Linked DNA regions of Homo sapiens: region 2 is linked to region 1. Evidence: promoter capture Hi-C in human tissues and cell types (Jung and others, 2019). All regions are on one chromosome and are shown on one strand. The core of a region is centred on a gene start or on the middle of the fragment in contact, and the rest is flanking DNA. Distances in the headings are between cores, read along the strand shown.

What was found. The method cuts DNA at HindIII sites, captures the fragments that hold promoters and counts their contacts. A contact is called where the count stands out against the background at its distance.
Region 2: a contact is called between the fragment with the promoter of FGR here and a fragment that was not itself captured in region 1, in 1 of the 25 tissues and cell types used here (psoas muscle).

The regions. Positions count from the first base shown.
Region 1 is chr1:27,033,207-27,037,570 of GRCh38, forward strand. LOC101928391 (a long non-coding RNA gene) reads left to right here. Exons shown (of 8, transcript XR_007065559.1): 2 at 254-387. Among named protein-coding and RNA genes, the nearest start is that of TENT5B, 23 kb to the left of the region's middle. RefSeq lists an enhancer at 1,700-2,201. The HindIII fragment of the contact is 4,027 bases long and covers 204-4,230 here.
Region 2 is chr1:27,633,517-27,637,740 of GRCh38, forward strand. It overlaps FGR (FGR proto-oncogene, Src family tyrosine kinase), which reads right to left and starts at 1,669. Exons shown (of 13, transcript NM_005248.3): 1 at 1,549-1,669. RefSeq lists a silencer at 745-794 and an enhancer at 3,793-3,852. The HindIII fragment of the contact is 29,896 bases long and covers 1-4,224 here.

The DNA.
Region 1 (4,364 bases), core at 967-3,466:
AGCCTTTCACAGCTCCCTGTCTTTCCTGCTTGAGCAACTGGGGCCTGTGTTTGGGTACCGTGGGAGGGAGGGGTTAGGGCAAGAATACTCCAAATCAAAGCACCCGCCCAGCAGGGAAGGGGAGAAGTTTTAGTGCCTCTGAAAATACACTTTGCCTTTATGCTTTATTTCCTAAGACAGATATGTGTCACTAACGCAAGGAGATGATAGTGGGTTTTAACTTGCTTTTGTTTTTCACTATTTTGCTTCCCAGGCAGGAGGCCCAAGCCCTGACAACAGAGGTGAGAGAGGCTGTGCCAGCCCTTCTCTGGGCATGTCTGGGCTCAAGGGCCAGGCTCTGTCTCCAGTCTAGGGCCAAGCTGGGGCCTGTGGCAGGATCAGATAGAGGTGAGTGCGTTTTCTGTGAGTGACCCCATCGAGGCCTAGCCCAGAACAGGTGGGGCTCTTTCTGGGCCTGGGTGGAGATCTTTGTCACTGGGCACAGGCTCAGTTTATGACCAAGGTCAGGGCCCATCCTGGGATCAGGGAACAGGGAGAAGCAGCTCTTAGCTTCTCCCAGGACAGAACCAGCCCAGGATTCTTGTTCTAGTAGGGTGAGTTAGGCAGGCGTCTTGGAGCCCACAGGTCTTAGGCTCTTGGGCTAGAGCAGAGGCTCTGAGTGAAGGTGATGTCCCCGAGCTGAGGCCCAGGGTCTCTGACTCACCACTGGGTGGGTTTTCAGGGCAGATGAACTCCCCATCTCGACCCACATTCCCCACCTTACAGCTCAGCCACCAGGACTCTGTGAACATGACTGGCCATCTCCTTCCACTGTTCCTACTTAAGGTCCTGGTGCTTACACAAGAAAGTGGTACCACAACCAGCTCTTTCTAGTGGCAGCTGGACTTGTGGGGGCGGGGAGGGCACAGCTTCTCTAACTGTCCTCAGGGCTCTGTCCAGAGGTATGGATTCTGGTAAACTGGCTAGCTGGAAAGAATAACCAAAAGCCCTCCACCATGGTCAATTTCAGGCTACCCACATGACGCCACTACACGTGAAGTTGTGAAGAGATGTGCAGAATTGGCTCCAGCACCCCCCGTACCTGTTCCAGGACAGTCCCGTTGCCTTCCACGGGGCCCAGAAAGGGGCTGGGGTCCTGCTGGCTTGCCAAGTTAGGGTACCCTTGAGGACTTCCTGTCCTGCCCTTGTGCCTGTTGGTGTGACTGTGATTATGATTGTGGCTATAGTTGACATTGTGATTGTGATGGTTGAAGCTTCAGTTACTGGTGTGTTTTCAGTGACGGGGAGAAGAGGCCAGTGAAGTAAATGCCTCTGTCACTCAAGGGACACGGCCAGGTGCCCAGGGGTATGAGGGCCAATTAGGGCCCAGGGTCCTCAGGGCTGTGTTGTGGCTCTATGCAGGAAACTGGAAACCTGATGTGACCTAATGAACACATCTCCTGCCACTCTCCCCTTCCTCCACTGTGCAGTGATGACCTGGCCTCATGCTGCATTGAGGAGACAGGAGCCCAGCTGTGGGACGCGCTCACCTTTCCATGGTGTAATCTGTATTCCTACCTGCACCGTGCCCTTCTTCTTCTCCTTCCTGACTCACATCTGAGGTTGGGTCCCTCCTCTTATCAAAGGACAGTCTTTTTTTTTTTTTTTTTTTTTTTGAGACGGAGTCTTGCTCTCTAGCTCAGACCGGAGTGCAGTGACGCGATCTCAGCTCACTGCAACTTCTGCCTCCCAAGTTCGAGCAATTCTCCTGCCTCAGCCTTCTGAGTAGCTGGGATTACAGGTGTGCACCACCACGCCCAGCTAATCTTTTTGTATTTTTAGTAAAGATGGGGTTTCACCATGTTGGCCAGGCTAGTCTCGAACTCCTGACCTCAAGTGATCCTCCCGCCTCTGCCTCCCAAAGTGCTGGGATTACAGGCGTGAGCTACCACGCCAGGCCTAAAGGACAGTCCTTAGTGACTTCCCATTGGCTGGAATAAAATGCTGATTCTTTACGGGATGACTTTAGCCTCATCTCCCCCTTCCACCCCCGGCTCCTTGTGTTTCAGCTTCGATTGGCCCCTTTTCTGTTCTACAAGCACAACAAGCTTGTTCCTACCTCAGGGACTTGGAGCCCACAGTTGCCTCCCAGTCTCTGCGTGTCTGGTTACTCATCGTCCCAGTCTTGGCCCAAAGAGCCCTTCCCTGACCTTTCCCTCTAAAGGGGGCTCCCCAGTTACTCTCCATGTTTTCACCTTTGTTGTGGTCAGCCCAGCACTGATGGGTCACCTTGTTTACTGCAGTGTGACTTGTTTCAGGGTCTTCCCCACTAGAGTGTAAGCTCCATGAGGGCAGCGTGCTCATTGTCTGTGGTACCTGGAATCTGGCTGGTACCAGATAAATGCACATGGAATATATAGTACATGTCTGTGTTTATTTCCCCTTTGTTGTCCCTGGGCCATTGCTAACATCTTGTTTGCAGGTCCAAGCCTGGTTTCTTCTCTCCACCGGGCTCTAAAGGGAATGGGCCAAGCTTCCCCCCAACATTTGGGCCAGAGTATGAAAGAGGGGCTAGTGCTCTGCAGGTGCCCCTGTGGTGGGGGGCAGCAGAGGTTGCTGGGTGAGCTCAAGGGGCTTTGAGCCTCCTGGGGTTGAGAGGTCCGGGCGCCTCCAACTTTGATTTGCTTTTGGTACAGAGGGCAGCATTTCCTCCAGCTTCTATGTGTATCCCGGCCCCCGGGCTTCCTCTCTGAGCAGGACTTTCATTGTTTTCTGTCTGCCTTGTGCCCATTTCCTCCTTCCTCCCTCACTCCTGAGGACGAACTCCTCCTCTTATCAAAGGACAGCCCTTCCTGTCTTCCCATTACATTCAAAGCCCCTTTCTCTTTGGGGAGGAGCCCCCACTACATGAGTCTTGATGGACATCTGGGCCCTATTGCCCACTATAGAAGCTGGAGGGGACCACAGACCCCTCTTCCTACTCCCTGGCAGAGAGGACATGGGCACATAACCTGGGGCGGCCAAGGGGCGTAGCCCAGGGCTTGGAGTGAGTGATGCCAAGACAGGAGGGTAAGAATTCACTTAGAAAGGAGGCTTTTGCCAGCCCAGCCAATATGGTGAAACCCTGTCTCTACTGAAAATACAAAAAAAAAAAAAAAAAATTAGCCGGGCGTGGTGGCGCATGCCTGTAATCCCAGCTACTTGGGAGGCTGAGGCAGGAGAATTGCTTGAACCCGGGAGGCTGAGGTTGCAGTGAGCTGAGATCGCGCCACTGCACTCCAGCCTGGGTGACAGAGGGAGACTCTGTCTCAAAAAAAAAAAAAAAAGGAAAGAAAAGTGGTCTTTGGTAGCAGTTGCCAATGTGGTGTCTGATGGTGACAGTGATATCCAGATGTCTTGCAGCAGGCTTGGCCTGTCCAATGCTGTCACTTCCTTCGTTCCTGCTTTTATCTGAGCTTGGGAGGTAGTTTGAGAAGTCGCTGGTGCAGTTATGGAGGGGTGGGGAAAGCAAGATCCCTTTGGAGAGGAGCTAACAGGGTTTCCTGCCCCAGAGCTCTGCCACCACTCAGATGCCCAGAACCTGCCCCCCAAATTCCACTCTCTGAGAGTTCAGGGTTGAGCCCCCTCCCTCCTCCACCATATCTCCTGAGGCCCCTCCCACCAGGTATCCCAGCTGAAGAGGTTCTTCCCTGGGAACTGCTGCCTCAGCCCAGATTCAAGTCAGACAACAGGAAGGACTTCCTGACTGGGGGGGATGGGAGGCCCTGGACAAGGTCAGTGGGGGCATTTCTATCCCAAGACAAGGGACTGACTTCTGGAGGCCCTTTTCCAAATGACAGACAAAAAGAGCAGAGTCTTCTTCAGCCTGGCCAGGGCGGGCAGGGAAGGTTTTTAGAACAGGGTGAAGCACTTAGGGCCAAAGAGCACCAAGATTAAGAGCTCAGACTCCCTTGTTACATCCCAGCTCTGTCACTAACTAGTTGTGTCATCTTGGGTAAGCTACTTAACTCTGCTTCAGTTTTTTTAATCTGTAAAATGGGAGCAATAGTAGTACCTATCTCAGGAGGTTTAAATCAGTGAGTTGAAATTTGTAAAGTGTCAGAGCAATGCCTGGCACAAAGTGACTATTATATAAATTATTTATTTATTTATTTATTTATTTATTTTTTTGAGATGGAGTCTCTCTCTGTCTCCCAGGCTGGAGTGCAATGGTGTGATCTTGGCTCACTACAACCTCTGCGTCCCAGGTTCAAGCAATTCTCCTGCCTCAGCCTCCCGAGTAGCTGGGATTACAGGCGTGCATCACCATGCCTGGCTAATTTTGTATTTTTAGTAGAGACGGGGTTTCTCCATGTTGGTCAGGGTGGTCTCCAACTCCCAACTGC
Region 2 (4,224 bases), core at 419-2,918, 600 kb after region 1:
CCTGGAGGCCCTGTCAGTGAGAGCCGGGCAGTCTGGTCCCCCTCCATGCTTTTTGTTGTTGTTGTTGTTTACAGACAAAATCTCACTCTCTCATCCAGGAGCTCTCACTGCAGCCTTGAACTCGTGGGCTCCAGCGATCCTCCGGCCTCAGCCTCTGGAGTAGCTGGGACTACAGCAGGTGCCACCACTTCCAGCCTTCTGGCTAACTATATTTTTTTGTAGAGACAGGACGGGGGTCTCCCTGTGCTGCCCAGGCTGGCCTCCTCTGCATGTTTTTGAGAAGGTGAAGGGGAGGCTCGCTGAGTCAGGGATAGCCCTTAACCCTTCAGGACACTCAGCAAAAACTGCTTTCTGCACCTGATTCTCGTGGGGGAAGAGTGGACACAAGGATCATTTCTCACCATAGTTCAGATGAGGAAAGTGAGGCCCAGAGAAGCCCTGTAACTTGCCCACAGTCACACAGCAATTAAGGGCCCAGTCTTGCTAAGAACCCAGGTCTCTCAAACAGCAGATCCTCCACCCCAGGATCCCTGAACACAGCGGCATCGCCTCCTACCTCGGTCGGGAAGCCCACCCCCCACCCACCAGACCGAGGATTCCAAAAGGGGGCGAAGGCGGAGAGCAAAGGGGGCTGCGCCCACCCGGAGCCCCGCGGCGGCCCAGCGCGGCCCGCCCTCTCGTTGCCTTGGAGGCAGCCCCTGCGGGCACTCGCGGTCAAAGGCAGGATTTCCGTCGGGGCGGCAGCAATTCCCGGATCCAGCGGGGAGCGCGGGCCGAGACCGCCGCGGGCGCGGAGGGGGCGCCCGGAGAGGCCTGTCCCTGCCGAGGGCGGGGACTTCCCCAGGAAGCGGGGACCCACGCCTCGCGCGCCCGGCAGGAGTCCCCTGCAGCCCGGAACCTACCGCAAGGGCGGGCCGAGAGGGTCGCGGGGCCGCGGTCGCGGCCGCTAACGTTACCCTGCGGGCTGTGGGCTTCACCCCGACTTCGGCCGGCTCGGAAGAGGGGAACTTCCTGGACCCGCAATTGCACCCCAGGTTCTCCGTCCTCCAGAAGTCGTTCTCCTCAACCCCCTTCCCGCCAGCTCCCTCTCCTGTTCCCTCCAGCACCCCCACCCATTTCCCCTCTCCTGGACCCATCAGACCCGTCGGCTTCTCCCCAAAGTCCCACTCTCACGATCCCTTCAGTTTCTCCCCCAGACCGTCCTGGGGATTCCCCTTAATCCTTCTCCCCCACCTCAGCCCCCTTCCTAAACTCTTATCAGTCCCCTCCATTTTACCCACTAGACCTTTTTGGGGGTCCCTTTGGTCGGCTTCCCCCGTGCTCCCCTCCGCCCTCTCCTCCAGGTTTATCAGCCTTGCTTTTCAGGTCGCCCGTTTTCCTCCTTAGGCCTTTTCGGGCTGGGGTCCCTTTGGCTGTCACCTTGCTCATGTGTCCCCCGACCCCCAGGTTCAGGCTTCTCTTCCCGTGTACCCCCAGTCCTCTCTCCAGAGCCTCGAGGGGGAGGGCACTGCTTGACCTGCCCAGTCCCCACCCGACGCTGTCGCTTACCTGGAGCCCAATTCTGCCCGGCCCCGGGGTGAGCCAGCCGGGGCTCCAGCAGCCGCGAGTGCCGGCGTGCGGGGAGAACTGGGGTGCTGCCCGCCTCTGACCGCCGCCCCTGCTGGGCAGGGAGGAGGAAGCCGCCTCGGACTTCTCTTATTGCAGTCACGGCCGGCGGGCGGTGATGGTGGCAGGGAGACAGTCACGCCCTAGCCCCAAGCCAGCTCCCCGCAGCGAGGAGGCGCCCCCAGATCCTAGGCCCACCCGCCCCCACCTTCCTCCTCCCTGGTTTACGGGAGGTCGGCTCTGTCACCCTCCAGACCTGAGTCCCCAGCCCGGCCTTCCCAAAAGCCCCCTCCAAAAGCGCAGTTTCAGCACCCCCGAAGCACCTGCTCTTTTAGGATCATTGAATTGGAGGTTAAGAGGGGCTTTTCTCCATCACTGAGGACCAGATCGGGACTGGCCTTACTCGAGTTCTCACAGCCAGTTGACTTCAGACTGCTGTCACCAGAGCCACTGGACATGGATCACATGGACCCTGTCAGCACGCCTTCCCTTCCTCAGGGGCTGAGCACTGGGGACACAGGGCTGTTAAGGGTGGTGAGCAGCAGAAGACCCTTCCCTTAGGAAACTGCCTTTCAGAGGAGTGGGAAGGGTGTCAGCCTCCCCCAGGCACCCAAGTTTTAGAAAAACTGAGTAACTGGCTGGGGGCAGTGGCTCAGCCTGTAATCCCAGCACTTTGGGAGGTTGGGTGGGAGGATTGCTTGAGCCCAGGAATTCCAGACCAGCCTAGGCAGCATAGGGAGACACCATCTCTACCAAAAAAAATTTTTCTTAAGTTAGCTCGGTGTGGTGGTGTGCACCTGTGGTCCCAGCTACTGCAGAGGCAGAGGTGGAAGGATCCCTCGAGTCAGGCAGGTCGAGGCTGCAGTGAGCTGTGATTGAGCTACTGCACTCTACCTTGGGTGACAGAGCAAGACCCTGCCTTAAAAAAAAAAAACACAAAAAAAGAATGTGGGTTTTGTTGCAGAAAATGACTTTTTTTAAAAAAAAGAAAGAAAAGGCCGGGTGCAGCGGCTCACGCCTGTAATCCCAGCACTTTGGGAGGCCGAGGCGGGTGGATCACGATGTTAGGAGATCAAGACCGTCCTGGCTAACACAGTGAAAGCCCATCTCTACTAAAAATCAAAAAATTAGCCGGGCGTGGTGGCGGGCGCCTGTAGTCTCAGCTACTCAGGAGGCTGAGGCAGGAGAATGGTGTGAACCCGGGAGGCGGAGCTTGCAGTGAGCCGAGATGGCGCCACTGCACTCCAGCCTGGGCGACAGAGCGAGACTCCGTCTCAAGAAAAAAAAAAAAAAAAAAAAAAAGGAAGAAAAACTGAGTATCTTAGAACATGTGGAAAAAGATTTTTAAAAACAAAAAGAGAAACGGTAGCATCCTCTATCAGTTCCAGTCTCTCTGTCTGATAGGGATCCCTGACCCCTCCTCAATCTGGGGTTCAGTCCCCACTCCCACCACTGTTACTTCAGCCTTAAAGCAAGAACCCGGAATATCCCTCCTGTCCAGGAGAGGAAGAGGTGTGGTGGGGAGGGCTGTTTGGTGGAGAAGGATGTGTCTGTTGGGATGTGGTGAGAGGCAGGGAGAGTGTGCGTAAACACAGAAGTGTGTGTGTGTGTGTGTGTGTGTGAGAGAGAGAGAGAGAGAGAAAGCAATGACATGATGACTTTGCTTTTGGAATCAACAACTAGGCCATGGTGTGCAGGCAAGTGTGTTTCTTTGTATGGGCAGGGGCATGTGGGGATGTGTGTGTGCATGCGTACACATGCTCAAGTGTGGCCCAATGTGCCTGGGGTAACAGAGTGGTGGGATGGAGATAAGAATGCTTTTCTCTTAGGAAATGGGAGGAGGGATGAGGAGGAAGACAGAGGAGCCAGTGGCAGTGCAGGGTCTCTGGAAGAGTGGCTTCACCCTAGCCGGGCAGCATCACCTCCGCCATCAAATGCTCCCTGCCTGGCCATCGGCCCACATGTTCAATTAGCAAACAAGCAAACGTTTATAATTGTGTCTTAGGTGCCAGCCTTAGGGAACACAGAGATGAGAGACTGGTCCCTGCTCTTGGGGGATCCCCCCAATCTATCATGCTCGCTCTGTCATCCTTCAAGGTCTGACTCACAAGCATCTGCTCTAGAGGCCTTCCCTGATTGCTGCCTCTACCCACTCCACACCCCCAGCAGAACCTCAGCATCTTCTGCCTGGGGCACCACTGGTTCCTGGGGGATGGGTGTGTGGGATATGTTTTCCTCAAGGGCAGGGGTCTGGCTCTTGTAGATGCCTCCAGTACCCACACAAGGCCCAGCACACAGTAGCAGGCTTTCTGTGTATAGGAACACGTGAATCAACCAAAGGACAAAGGAATTAACAGATGAACAAAGGAAAGCCCAGTGAAAAACTAAATAATGGAAGGTAAGAAAGAATGAATGAAGAAATTCAAGAATTGATGACTGAATAAGCAAATGAATGGAAGAACAAAATGACAACATTGCTTCTCAGGCCGGGCTCGGTGGCTGACGCCTGTAATCCCATTGTTTTGGGAGGCTGAGGCGGGCGAATCACTTGAGGTCAGGAGATCGAGACCAGCCTGGCCAATTTGGTGAAGCCCCGCCTCTACTAAAAATACCAAAATT